Regions from separate parts of the Homo sapiens genome. Here regions 1 and 3 are each linked to region 2. Evidence: promoter capture Hi-C in human tissues and cell types (Jung and others, 2019). All regions are on one chromosome and are shown on one strand. Each heading gives the region's core, a stretch centred on a gene start or on the middle of the fragment in contact. The rest is flanking DNA. Distances are from core to core; before and after follow the strand shown.

The links. The method cuts DNA at HindIII sites, captures the fragments that hold promoters and counts their contacts. A contact is called where the count stands out against the background at its distance.
Region 1: a contact is called between a fragment that was not itself captured here and the fragment with the promoter of LMX1B in region 2, in 2 of the 25 tissues and cell types used here (bladder and heart right ventricle).
Region 3: a contact is called between a fragment that was not itself captured here and the fragment with the promoter of LMX1B in region 2, in 2 of the 25 tissues and cell types used here (lymphoblastoid cells and mesendoderm cells).

Annotation. Positions count from the first base shown.
Region 1 is chr9:126,534,841-126,539,835 of GRCh38, reverse strand. No RefSeq gene overlaps it. Among named protein-coding and RNA genes, the nearest start is that of LMX1B-DT, 76 kb to the left of the region's middle. RefSeq lists enhancers at 2,162-2,662, 2,663-3,163, 3,989-4,513. The HindIII fragment of the contact is 4,997 bases long and covers 1-4,362 here.
Region 2 is chr9:126,610,410-126,615,177 of GRCh38, reverse strand. LMX1B (LIM homeobox transcription factor 1 beta) reads right to left here and starts at 1,250. Exons shown (of 8, transcript NM_001174147.2): 1 at 590-1,250. The coding sequence starts at 728. LMX1B-DT (LMX1B divergent transcript) reads left to right here and starts at 1,379. Exons shown (of 2, transcript NR_184148.1): 1 at 1,379-1,729. RefSeq lists enhancers at 1-516, 517-1,098, 1,354-2,322, 4,266-4,768 and a silencer at 3,475-3,544. The HindIII fragment of the contact is 15,813 bases long and covers 1-4,768 here.
Region 3 is chr9:126,735,090-126,739,533 of GRCh38, reverse strand. No RefSeq gene overlaps it. Among named protein-coding and RNA genes, the nearest start is that of ZBTB43, 68 kb to the left of the region's middle. The HindIII fragment of the contact is 4,205 bases long and covers 1-3,857 here.

The sequences.
Region 1 (4,995 bases), core at 615-3,114, 76 kb after region 2:
GTGCTGGGATTACAGGTGTGGCCACCATGCCCGGCTGGCGTTCACTCTTAAGTACAAAGTCTGCACAATATTTAGATTGAGAATGGGCATTAAGCGAGATAGATAATATAAACAGACTTTCCTCATCTGAACCTGTATTCCTAGAATGGTGTATTAGATTTTTAATGTTTTTTTTTCTTTTTCTTTTGAGATGCGGTCTCACTCTGTCATCCAGGCTGAAGTGCAGTGGCATGATCACAGCTCACTACATCCTTGACCTCCTGGGCTCAAGCAATCCTCCCACCTTAGCCTCCGGAGTAGCTGGGATTACAGGTGCACGCTACCACGCCTGGTTAACTTTTGTATTTTTTGTAGAGACAGGGTTTTGCCATGTAGTCCAGGCTGGTCTCGAACTCCTGGGCTTGAGCAATCCGTCCACCTCAGCTTCTCAAAGTGCTGGGATTATAGGCATGAGCCACTGTGCCCAGTCAATATCTTTAATGTTTTGCTACTTTCTCTATGATAGCATTTGATTTTGTGTTTCCTCATCGCTGTTTATAGATGAGATTAGTCATCTATGGGGTTTATAAAGCTGTCTTTGTTGGGTTATGGGATTAGATTTGTACTAAACTCACAAAATTATAAGTGAAACTTCTCATCTTTGGAAAAGTATAAATTACATGTACACTATTCTTTGAGAGAACTGATAGAATCATCTGGGCCTGGTGCCATTTTAGGGTCATCTTTTAAAAACATTTGACTATGCCACGTGCTTTCAACAGTTTCTCAGTGATCACGGGAGAAATTGCAACTTCTCTACCACGACATTAAAGGTACAGCATGATTTACTCTGCCTCAGCTCTTACTATTCTTCACCCCTCTTTTGCTACCCTGGCCACCCCTAGCTTCTGGAAGTTCCCCAACCCTAGAGTGGGAGAGTCACAAGAGCAGGGACCATGTTTATTTTGTTTGGGATGGAATCTCTGGCACCCTGTAGAAGCTTACCTTTGACAAGTATTTGTGGAAGGACATTCACTCTGATAATATCACTGTGTCTTTTAGCTCATGTCAACACATGTTCACTGAGCACCTTTTGTTTCTTTTTTTTGTTGTTGTTGTTGTTGTTTTTGAGATGGAGTCTCACTCTGTTGCCCAGGCTGGAGTGCAGTGCTGTGATCTCAGATCACTGCAATTGCTGCCTCCCAGATTCAAGCAATTCTTGTGTCTCAGCCTCCCGAGTAGCTGGGATTACAGGTGCATGCCACCATGCCTAGCTATGTTTTTCATTATTATTTTTAGTAGAGATGGGGTTTCACCGAGTTGGCCAGACTGGTCTTGAACTCCTGACTTCAAGTGATCCACCCGCCTTGGCCTCCCGAAGTGCTGGGATTATAGGCATGAGCCACCGCCCCTGTCCTCTCTGAGCATCTCTTCTGTGCCTGATCATGTGCTGGTCCTGGAGACAGAGATTCCCAGCCTCTGTCCTCAAGTTGCTCTCTGGCTATTGGGGAACCAGGTGGGTAAACAGGCCTTTCAGTTCAGTGAGAGGGGCGTGACTGGGCCTATGGGAGCACACAGGAGGCCACCTGACCCAACCTGGGTAGGAGAGATCAGAGGTGGCTTCCTGGAGGAGGTGAACCTGGATTTAGTCTTACATAATGAGGAGAAGTGGGGGGTCATTCTAGGATAAGGGGATACCATGAGCCAAAGACCAGAAAGAAGAATCGTCATCTCTCATTGGAAGATAATTGTAGCCACCTCCTAGCCTGTGTCCCGGGGTCTGCCCAAGACTTCCAAATCAGCACGGCAGCCAGAGTGAAGCTTTTGAAATGTGTCTGTCACATCACTCCCCTGCTGAAAACCCACTACTGGCTTCTTAGCTCACTCCAGATAAATTCCAAAGTCCTAAGCATGAACAATCACACCCTACACAATCTGGCCCCTGTGTTTCTCTGAATTTACCTGGTCACTCCATTCCAGCCATTGCTCTTCCTTAGATAGAAAAACAGTCTCAGCTCGGGGCCTTTGCACTGGCTCTTCCTTCTGCCTGGAGAGCCACACCATCTCTTTCTTCAGGTCTCCGCCCAAAGGTCACCAATGAATAAGGTTGTTCTTGACTCCCATATAACACAGCAACTCCCACGGTGACTGTCTTGGTCTTTATCCTGCTTATTTTTCTCCATGCTATTAGGTTGGTGCAAAAGTAATTGAGTTTTTTGACATTACTTTTAATGGCAAAAAAACGCATTACTTTTGTACCAACCTAATAACAATGCCACCTGATATTAGACACACACAATGCACACACACACATACACACACACACACATGCTGCTTTTTAAATTAAAATTTGTTTTAACCTACTAAAATGAAAACTTCAAGAGAACAAGGATTTTGTCTTGTCTACCCTGTAGCCCCAGTACCTGGAATAGCATCTGGAAGAATGCCATCCATCAATGTGAGCAGTTTGGTGTGGCTGGGGCAGGGTGCACCCGAGGGATGGGCAGGCGATGGGGCTGTGTACTCCTAGGCAGCAGCAGGAGGCTGGGCAGAGCCTCAGATGACGGCCGAGGAGCCCGGAACTTCCAGAGGTGACCAGGACCCAGGGAAGGGTAACAGGGTCAGATTCACGCTTGGGGATGGTGGCATTGCCCGTCTGGAGGAGGGCGGGCTGGAGGGGGGGAGTGAGATGGGCAACAGTGAGAGAGAATGACCCCAGTGCAGACAAGAAATGGCAGAGGAGGCAAGACAGCTGCCTGGGCTGCTGGCGGGGCCGTGGGGGATGAAGATGCCATTCTCTGACCCAGGGGCCCTCAAGGGGGAGATTCTATTTTGGGTGTCTAGGAAGCTGGGCCACGGGGCTCATGGAGCTCAGGATAGAGGCCTGGACTGGTAGGAGTGGTTTGGGGGTGGGGATATGGGGAGCATGATGTCACTGGCATTGTTGTCATCATCACTCTTATAATCTTCATCAAAACAAACTTTTATTGAGTGCTTAGTGTGTACCTGGCACTGTGCTCAGAGCTGTGGGCAGAGTTCTTTCTTGGCGTTTCTCTATAACCCAGTAATGTGCTGCTACATGTCTCACAACCTGCTCTCTGGAGGAAAAAAGCCCTGATTTGTGGAGTTTGACCATGTCTATGGTGTAAATACTCCTACTATGGCTGATTTCAAGTGGTGAACATGATGTTACTGCACGTGGAGTTAGGCACAGATGTGCCACAGCTGCCATGATGTGGCATTTCCAACACAGATACAGTAGACATGAGCTCAAGGGCATAGATGATAGGAAAATGAAGTAAACGTATAGGAATGGATGAGTTTGGAGTGTTTATTACCTTTGATTTGAATATCATTTATTTAAGTTTACATAATTTAAATGTTTAACAAAGGCTGTGTTTAACAACCAGCTTGTAACATTAATTCTTGAAAATGTAACCAGCAGCTCTTGCAAACTGACATGGACCGATGCCCACACCCCACTGCTACAATCTCACAATACAGACATACAGACGCAGTCATCAGGGAGGGGAAGGGAGGTCACCCGGCTGGTAAGTGGCAGAGACAGGTGTCCTTGAGCAAGTAATGTTCTGTCCCTGAGCACCAGTTTCCTCACCTGTGAAATGGGGACAGTAAAACGTCCCTTCCGGGTGCTGTGGCGGTTTAATAAGCCAATGCTTATAAAGCAACTGGCATATAGTAAATGCTTCATAAGTGGGGACCGCTAGTGTATTATTGTTATTTTTATTTTGTTCATTTTTGAGACGGAGTCTCACTGTCACCCAGGCTGGAGTGTAGTGGTGCAATCTCGGCTCACTGCAACCTCCGCTTCATAAGTGGGGACCTGACCACTAGTGTATTATTGTTATTTTTATTTTATTCATTTTTGAGATGGAGTCTCACTCTGTCCCCCAGGCTGGAGTGTAGTGGTGCAATCTCAGCTCAATGCAACCTCCACCTCCCTAGTTCAAGCGATTCTCCTGCCTCAGGCTCCTGAATGGCTAGGATTACAGGAGTCTGCCACCACGCCTGGCTAATTTTTGTATTTTTAGTACAGATGGGGTTTCACTATGTTGGCTAGGCTGGTCTCGAACTTCTGACCTCAAGTGATCTGCCCGCCTCAGCCTCCCAAAGTGCTGGGATTACAGCGTGAGTCACCGTGCCCAGCTGTGTTATTGTTATTTTAATACTAATAACAAATTCGGATCCTGCCCTCAAGGTATTCATGGCCTAGTGGAAGGAGAGGCAAACAATAAGACATACACACATTCAAAGGATTCCAATTCAGGCAGAAAAGGAAGGCTTCCTGGAGGAGGATGCATTTGAACTGGGCCTTGTAGGTTTGGGAGAGGGTGGGTCCATTTGGGTTAAGGTGAGGCATTGCTGGCTGTTGGCCCACAACAAAGAGAGGAGGGACATGGGGATGCATCTGGAACGAGGACCAGGTGAGAGAGGAGGCTGGAGCCCATGAGAAGATTGCTGGATGGAGAGACGGAGTCTGCATTTTCTTCTGAGGGCAGTGGGGAGCCACAGCGGGCTGTTCAGCAGGGTGTGACAGGGTTGGATTGGTCTCTTGGAACATCAGTGTGACTGCAAAGGGGAGGAGGACCAGGAGGGGGCCACAGTGATGGTGGCAGAGGCTGTCCCAAGGGGCGTGGGGATGGCAGCCCACCCATCTGGGCTCCTTCACCAGCCTGAGTGGTGCTGGGGTGTCCCTCGGCACCTCCCCTCCTGTACTTACTGGAGAGGGCAAGCAGGACTCCTCCCCCACTGCTCCAGCCCCAGCCCCATAGCTAATCCTGGTGACACCGGGTCCTGAGGCTGGGGCGGGGCAGCCGGGCAGCTGGCCTCAATTAGCTGGGAGCCGGGTCTGGACAGTGTCATTAGGAGAAAACCAGAGCCTGCCCATAAACTCTAATGAATGCATTAATGGAAGGCTTGTGCGCCTCAAAGGGAAAAAAAAGCAAGTCTAAATAAAGTTATTAACACAGCCCACCTGTGTTCGGCTCTCGGCCT
Region 2 (4,768 bases), core at 1-2,500:
GCCGCGGGCCTCGAGCCTTGGCTCGGCGCTGTGCTCTCCCCTTCTCCGGAGAATCCGCGCTCCGTGTTAAGACAAATGACAACGAGCACGGCGCAGGGTGGCCGGCTGGGACCAAGACAGGCGAGGTGAGGCTGGGGCGCTCGCTGGCTGACACGCCCCACGGTGGCGTTCGTGGTCTTCTATCCCCGATCTCCCCAAAATCTGTGGTTTGAGTGACCAGGGAGACGTTTTTCTCTTAGAATCTCCCCCACCCCAGGTGACCTTGCGCCTCTCCCAAGCTCGCCAAGGTGATTGCTAGGTCCTCCATCACCCCTGCCACCCGCCACCTACCACATCGGAGTGGCAGCTCTAGAACCTAAGCCTGGAAAGGATGGTGGGTGGCGACTGGAGCTGTCCTGTCCCCTCAGGACGCCTGCCGGAGGCGTACTTGCGGCCCTCTGGCGATCACTCCAGGAGTCCTGTCTCTGCCTCCTCCCCATGTCCTGCAAACCCATTTCCTTTATCCGTTGGCCCCAACGCCCGTGTCCACAGCCGGACGACGCCCCATCCCACGCCCGAGACCACTCGGGCGTTCCGACCCCGCACTCACCCAGCAGCACCCCCAGAGTGGCGGGCCCGGGGCGCAGGGCGTGCTCCTCCATCTTGATGCCGTCCAACATCTTGGCGCAGTCCGTCTGCCCGCGAGGGAAGCACCTCTCCAGCGACTCGGGACCTGTTGCTATATCCATGGGACGCGGGGCGCGCTGCGGACCCCGCCGGCCGGGCTGCTCGCCCGCCGGCCCGTCCACCCGCTCTCCGCCGCCGCGGCCCTGGAACCGGGGAGGCGCGGCCCCCGCAGGGCAGGGGTTGCGCCGGCCCCCGGCGATCGTGGAGCGGCGACGCGCTGGCCCCGGGCCCCGGCGTCGTGCGGGCGGGCCGGGGCGGCTGCAGCCCGCGCCGCGCTCTCCCGGACACTTGCAGCCACGCGCGCCGGCTCCTCTGTCACCTGCTTGTCAGTCCCGGAACCCGGCGGCGGCGGCTGCTGCAGACGGAGCCGCGGGGAGGAGGCGGCGGCGGCGGTGGCGGTGGCGGCGGCGGCAGGCGGGGGAGGGGGTGGGGGTGCAGGGGCGGCCCCGCGGGCCGCGGGGGGGGCGCGCGGCGCAGCGGGGTCCCGGGCGGGGCGCAGCGGGCCGCGGGGCTCCGGGCGCGCTCCCCGCGCTACTCCAGTGCCATGGTGCGCCCGCTGAGCCGCCGGGTTTAGAGCTGGGGCTGGCGGCGGAGGGATACGGGCCGCCTCACCTCCCGAAACTTCCTGACATTTGAACCCCGCGGCCGGTATCCCTGCGCCGGGATGCGCCGCCGGCTCCACGTCAAATAGTGCCGTCCCGCCCCCCCGCGCGCCCCGGGGCTCCGCGCCCCTGGCCCGCGCCCCGCGCCGCGCCTGGCCCCGAGCTCAGGCCCCGGCTCCCCGGCCCGGCCGCCCCGCGGGCCCCTCGCAGAAGTTTTGATCGTCTTCGAAACAAATCCCTCTGCTCCACCCCCTTGAAAAATTGATTTGGGAGTTGGGGAGCGAAGGCTTTCTTTTTTCTCCTCTGCCTTCTTTATTATTAATATTTTGTAAAGCTCCAGCGCTACGAGGAGTGGCCCCGAGCGAGGCCAGACTGCGCGGACGGCAGGGAGCGCGGCGGCTCCGCCAGGGGACGGCGCCGGCCGGGAGTGGCCGCTTGGGAACCCCCGACTGTCGGCCGAGGTAGGTCGCGGGGGCTGAGTCGGAGTCCCCCGGGCGGCGGCGCCTGCTCGGGGCCGCTTGGTCCGCGGAGAGGGCCGGCTCCCAGGAACGAAGGACGGGGGCGGGCAGAAGGCGAGGACGGCTGGCCCTGGACTCGTGCAAGGGGGGCCCAGGCCCAGGAACGGGGAGTGAGCCTGGAGTGTGGGTGAGGGGTCTGGGAAAGCTCCGGGCCTGGCAGAGATTGGGCGGGGGACTGAGCCGATGGGAGGTTGGGGCCCCGGGATCGAGAATGGGGGACACTGGGACGACAAGGAAGGTCAGGCCTGGGTTCAGGCGACCGAGAGTTTAGAGGACAACTAAGGCTGGAAAAGGGGTCCCCGGGCAGGGGCAGGAGCAGTGGGCAAGACCCGGGCCTCCTAGGGTTTGCAGTGAGGGGCGCTAGGAGGGAGTGGTGGCCCCAGGGTAGCGGCTCTGAAGAAATTAGGTTGGCTGCCAAGATCGGGGTCCTTTGGCGGGTCGGGTGCCCGGCCAGGGGTCGCTGGGACGCGCGGATCAAGGACAGTGCTCTAGCCAGCCTGGGCAAAGTGGACCTCGGCAACGGGACGCGAAAGCTGGCGAGATGGAGCTGCCGACTTCCGCGCCAGCCGGGCCTGGCACCCGCGTCCGGTGCGAGAGGCCACAGCGTCGGACCGGCTGTCTGCGGCCCGTGGTCCCCACCGACGCGCGGCTCACCGGGGAGCAGGGGGGCGGTTGCGGCCCGGGGTAGCGGCGGGCTGACCCCCCGCGATCCGCTGCGGGGCGGCCCCGGCCCCTCCCGGAGCGAGGCAGCGGCGCGGAGCCGGGCGGGGGCGGAGGGCATGGGGGGCGGGTCCCCTGACCTCGCTGGAGGCGAAAGGGCGGATCGGATTTGGAACCTGCGGGAGGCTTGGTCAGAAGTGGCCCCCTGCGCCGCGGGGCCCCGCGGAGGGGCCCGGCTTTGTGGAGGATTAGAGGCTCCCGCCCTACCCTACCTGCGTGTGTGTCGGTGGGTATCTGTGTGTGTCTGTGCGTGTCGGGCCCCCGCCTCTGCGGCTCTTGCCTCCGTGTGCTCCTTGGCTCTGCACACACGGTATGTGTGTCCCTGCAACCTTCCAGACTCCCAGGGGTGAATCTGTGGATCTGTGTCTGAGTCCCCTGCACCCGTGTGTATGTGAATGTGTGGGTCCTTCGTGCCTGTGTCTGGGGTGTGTGTCCGCATCATTTCATGCGGGGGCCTAAGTCTTTGTGCGTGTCTCAGCCTCTGTGTTGTGTCTGCGATCCTTTTCTGTATGGGTGTCTCTGTCAGCTTTGCGTATCTGTGCTTATCTCCGGGGTTCTGAATGCTTCTGTGTGCTCGCGTGTCTCCTAGCGTGTGTGTGTGTGTGTGTGTTTGTGTGTGGTGGGGGGCTTTGTGCCTTCGTGTATTTCTAGGCGCCTTTGTGTGGCTAGGTCGGGGAGAGTGGACAGTCAATGTGGAGTTTCTCTCCCACATCTCGGTCCCCTCTTTGCTTGACCTGGAAACCCCAGGCCTGGACCCGCGAAGTTGGGCTGGGCCTGAGCCGCCTTCTCCGGGCATCTGGGGCGGGGGCGCGGCTGCTGCAGGGAGAAGCCGGGCGGGCAAGGCTTCGGCGCACAGAGCCAGAGTCCCGAGGCGCGGAGCGCGGCTCGGGGCCGGCGGGCGGACCAGGCACTTTCTGCCCTCTGCTGGTCGCGGTCCATCCCTGCAACCGGGGCTGGGCGACTGCCTGCAGGCGAGAGTCCTCGTTCCAGGCCCAGACCCTCTCCCTCTCCTTCAGGGTGCACATGGTAATACTCTCTCGTCACAGGCCCTGCACCCCCAACTCCTGGCGCAAGGCTCCATCCCCTCCCCACCTTCCCTGTGCCTGGCCTCTCCTACCCTACAGCTCTCCTTTCCCCCTCCTTGGCTGAATGAGGGCCCCTGCGATCCAGTCTCCCAGGCTTCTCTAACTCGGGTTGGCGTCCAGTGCCGATCTGGGGCCGCTGGCTGTGCCCAGAGGCGCATTCCCCGGACCACTCGAAGGCCTGGTCTCAAGGCAGGAGGACTTGTGGGAAGTACCCCCTCCGTGCCGCGTCTGGTCTGTCCGGGTGCGCATGCATTCTCAGCGCCTCTTCCGCGCTCCTGCCAGTCATATCCCACGCCACCAAGGCGGATATAGGGTGGTCTGCCGCCATGCGGCCCGCGCCCAGATAGGGGCGCTGGCTCGGTGGACGCCAGAGCCTGGCTGCCTTCTCTGGTCTGGGGTGGGGCTGCTGAGTCCACACCCCTTGGGCCCCTCTGCATGCCTTCCCCGCTGTCCATTCATTCCCCCTACACACACACACACACACACACACACACACACACACACACACACACACACACACACACACACCCTCCCTATAGGCCCCGTTCCTTGCCCTTTGTCCTCACTCCTCGTGTCCCGTGCTCCCAGCTGAGTTGGCCGGTCTCGGGTCCTTCGCACGCAGACGCGCAGGGGTCCCAGATCTCTCCAGCACAATCGGGGCTCCCGCGCCTCTCCACCGCTTCCCTTGCCGAAGAAGCGAAGAAGCGGCCGACTGGACGGCACAGCAGGGGCCGAGGCCCAGAGCCGGCTCCTGCCCGCAGGCGGCGAACGGCACCTTGCTCCGCCAGGCCCCTGCGGGTGTGATCCGTGACCCGCAGATTCTCCCGGGCGCCTCTGGCCCATGACGCGGGGGCTGCTCGCTCCACGCAGGCGGCTTCGGGATGCTCTCCCGCTCAGATTTCAGCGGCAGAAACAGCCTCGGATTCTCTCTACCTGGGGGAAAGACTGAGTCGGGGGCTCGGAATCACTGGAAGAAGCGAGAATGGAAAGGGAGGCTCTGGAGCGGGGGTCCCGGCTCCTTCCAGTCTGCGGACGCCCCAGCTCCATTGAGCCCCGCCCTAGTCCCCCCGCTCCTCTTCTTAGGGCCTTGCACCCTCTCCTCTGCGCTACCCGCCTCCCTCGAGCACGGCTCTATGAGCTGCCCTCCCCCACCCCACCCAGCCCTGTCCATCCCGCT
Region 3 (4,444 bases), core at 506-3,005, 120 kb before region 2:
TTGTTGCCACTGGAATAGATACTCTGGATGTGGATTTGCTTTCTCTGCTCACAATGCTTCTTTCAAAATCACCATCCACACCTGTCTTAGTCCGTTTTGTGTTGTTATAAAGGGATACTCCCGGAGACTGGGTAATTTACAAAGAAAAGAGGTTTATTTGGCTCATGGTTTTGCAGCCTGTACAGGAAGCATGGTGCCAGCATCTTGTTGTGGTGAGGGCTTCAGGTTGCTTCTACTCATGGCAGAAGGTGAAAGGGAGCCATATGTGCAGAGAGCATGGCGAGAGAGGAAGCAAGAGGGCAGGAGAAGTTCCAGGCTCTTTTTAATGATCAGCTCTCATGGGACCAAATAGAGTGAGAACTCACTCGCTCCTAACCCCTGAGGAGGGCATTAATCTATTCATGGGGGATCTACCCCCATGACCTGAACATCTCCTATTTAGGCCCAATCTCCAACTTTGGGGATCAAATATCAACATGAGATTTTGTGGGGACAAACAAAGCATATTCAAACTATGGCAACAGCCTTATCCACAGTCATCGCATTCTGCACAACATCACTTCTAACCAGAGAAAACTCACTTTACAGAAAATGAGTAAGTGTGGCAGAAGGCTCCTGGCTCATGGAATTCACTGGGCTTATCAGGTTCCCCATTACTCTGTGGCAGCTGGCCTGATAAAATAATGACATGGCTTTTGGAAGACTCAATTATGACACCAGGTGTGTGGCAACATCTTGTAGGGCTAAGGCAGAACCTTCTAAGATATGGTATATGCTCTGAATCATTGTGACCAATATGTGGTCTCATTTGTTCCATAAACAGGATTCAAGGTCCTGGAATCAAAGGGTGGAAATGAGAGTGGCCCTTTTCACTTTTACTCCAATGGTTCACTAGCAAAATTTTTGTTTCATGTCCCTGACACTTGGGGCTCTGCTGGTTTAGAGGTGTTGGTTCCAAAGGGAGGAATGCTCTCATTCGTGGGTATAGATGTGGTTTCATTAAATTGGAAGCTGAGTTTGCCAGCTGGCCACACTGGGCTCTTCACACCAATGAACTAATAGGCAATGAAGGATTTATTGTACTGTTTAGGTTGATTGATCCAGAAATCAGTCCAGAATTTGGATTTCTATAATAAGGGCAGGGAGGAGTTTGTGTGGAATACAAGAAGTCTTTTGTGGGTAACTTTTAGTAGTCTCATGTCCTGGAATAAAGGTTAATGAAGAACCACCACATCCCAATAGAGACAAGGCTGCTAGTGGCACAGACCTTCAGAATGAAAGCTAGGGTCAATCCAGAAGGCAAGGAACCACAACGAGTTGAGTGCTTGATGAGTGCAAAGGGACTATGAACTAGGTGGTTGAAAGAAGGAAATTTAAAACACTGACGATAACTATGTCACCCATTGCAGAAATAAGGACTGCAGTATTTTTTAGTACTCCTTCCATACTTTGATATGAATATATGAATATACATATATATTGACCAATTCTTCAGAAGAATTGTACTCTGAATGTGAAAAGTTTTAGGAATTCATTGATTTCACTTATATTTTCCTCTTATATATTCATGAGAGTAATATATGATAAACATCTATGACAAAATAAATCTAATAGATGTTTTTAAAAAGCTTTCAGTAAGTGTAAAATTGAAGCACTGCATCAGAGTTTTGTTAATCTCATTCTTTCTTGTAAAATGCTTTTCTGTATTTATTGACCATGTGGCTTTTGTCCTTTATTCTATTAATATAGTGCGTTACATTGTTTGACTTTCTTATGTTGAACCAACCTTGTATTCCTAAGATAAATTCCATTTGGTCATAGTGTATACTCCTTTTTAAATGTTAGTGGATTTGGTTTGCTAATATTTTGTTAAGAACTTTTACATGTATATTCATAAGGGATATTGTTCTGTATTTTTCTTTTTGTGTGATTTCTTTGTCGGTGTCTCAGTATCAAGATAATACTGGCTTCATAGAATGCATGGTAACATTTCATCTTCTGTTTTTTGGAAGAGTTTGTAAAGGATTTGTATAAATTCTTCTTCAAACATTTGGTAGAGTTCACCAGTGAAGCCATCTGGTCCTAGGCTTTTCTTTGTGGAAAGTTTTTTATTTCTAATTTGATCCCTTTGTTTGTTATAGGTCTATTCAGACATTCCATTTTTAAATTTAGTTTCAGTAGTTTGTGTCTTTCTAAAAATTTATCCTTTTCATGTAGGTTATTTAATTTGTTCATAGTATTCCCTTATATTCCTTTTTGTTTCTATAAGATCAGTAACATTTTCTTCTTTTTTATTTCTGATTTTAATAATTGAATCCTTTCTTTTCTTGGTCAGTCTGCTAAAGAATTGTCAATTTTGTTGATCCTTTAAAGAAACAACTTTTGGTTTTGTTGATTTTTCTTTGTTGTTTTTCTATTCTTTATCACATTTATTTCCAACTTAATTTTTATTATTTTTTTCTTTCTGCTTTTTTGGAGGTTTAGTTTAATTTTTTTTCTAGTTTCCTAAGGTGGAAGTTTAGGTTCTTGATTTGAGGTCATTCTTTTTAAAAACATGCATTGACAGCTATAAATTTCCCTCTTAGCACTGTTTTAGCTAAGTTTGGTATGCTGTGTTTTTATTTTACTTCATCTCAAAGTATTTTCTAATTTTTCTTTTGAGTTCTTCTTTGACCCATTGGTTATTTAGGACTGTGTTGTTGAAATTTCATAGCGAATTTTCCTAATTTCCTCCTGTTATTGATTCATAATTTCATTTCATTGTGGTTGGAGAAGAGATACCTTGTATGATTCATATATATATATATATATATATATACATATATATATATATATATATATATATACACACACACACTTTTTTTGTCTTATAGTCTATTTTGTCTAATATTAGGATAGCTACTCTAGTTCTCTTCTGGTTAATGTTGGTATGGTATGTATTTTTCCATCCTTTATTATATTATCAATCTATTTGTATGTTTAAATCTAAAGTTTGTCTCTTATAGACGGTATATAGTTGGATCTTTTTTTTAAATAAATGGTTCTCCCAATCTCTGTCTTTTAATTGGAGTGCTCAATCCACTTACATTTAATGTAATTACCGATAAGGTGGTATTTAAATCTATCATTTTGCTATTTGTTTTATATATGTCCTATGACTTTTTTGTTCTTCTATTCCTCTATTACTTCCTTATTTTGTGTTAAATATATTTTTTCCAGTGTATCGTTTCATTGTCTTGTCATTTTTTAAACTTACTTGATTTATTTTCTTAGTGATTGCTCTAGGGATTGTAATTAACATTTTAACTTATAACAATCTAGTTTATATTAGTACGACTACAATGGCATACAAGAACTTTATTCCTGCATATCTCCATCCCCTTCCCCTTCTTTGTGCTATTATTTTCATACAAATTACATCTCTATACATTGAGTGTCCATCAGCACAGATTTAAAATTATTGCTTTATTCAGTTGTCTTTTAAATCATATAGGAGAAAAACGTTACAAACAAAAAAATACATTTATACTATTTTTTAATATTTACCTATGTTGTTACCTTTACCAGTGATTTTTATTTCTTCATGCAGATTGAAATTGTTGCTTAGTGTCCTTGCATTTCTGTCCTTTCATTGGAGGGACTTCCTTTAGTTATTTCTTGTACGGTTATAGCAGACCTACTAGTAATAAATTGTCTAGGATTTTTTTCTTTATGAGGGAATGTTTTAATTTCTTCTTCATTTTTGAAGGATAACTTTGCTAGATATAAAATTCTTGGTTGACTTGGATTTTTTCTTTCAGTACTTTGATATGTCATCTCACTGTCTTCTGGCCTCCATGGTTTCTGATGAGAAATCAGCTGTTAATCTTATTATGGATCCTTGTCTGTAGTGAGTCACTTTACTTTTTGTTTTGTTTTGTTTTGAGACAGAGTCTTGCTCTGTCTTCCAGGCTGGAGTGCAGTGGCATGATCATAGCTCACTATAATCTTGACCTCCTGAGCTCAAGCAATCCTCCTGCTTTGGCCTCCCAAGCAGCTAGAACTACAGGCATGGGACACCATGCCCAGCTAATTTTAAATTTTTTTGTAGAGACAGGGTCTTGCCATGTGTCTCAGGCTGGTCTCAAAATCCTGGCCTCAAGTGATTCTCCCACCTTGGCCTCTCAAAGTGCTAGGATTACAGACATAAGCTACCATGCTGAGTCTACTTCTGATGTTTTTAAGATTCTTTCTTTGTCATAGTCTTTTAATAGTTTATCATGTGTCTAGGCGTGGATCTCTTTGATTTTTATCTGACTTGGAGTTCATTGAGCTTTCTGGATTTGTAGATTAACATTTTTAATCAAACTCAGAAATTTTGGAGCCATTATTTCTTCAGATATTATTTCTGCCCCTTTCTTACTCCTCTCCTAGAACTCCCATTTTACATATGTTGGTTTGCTTG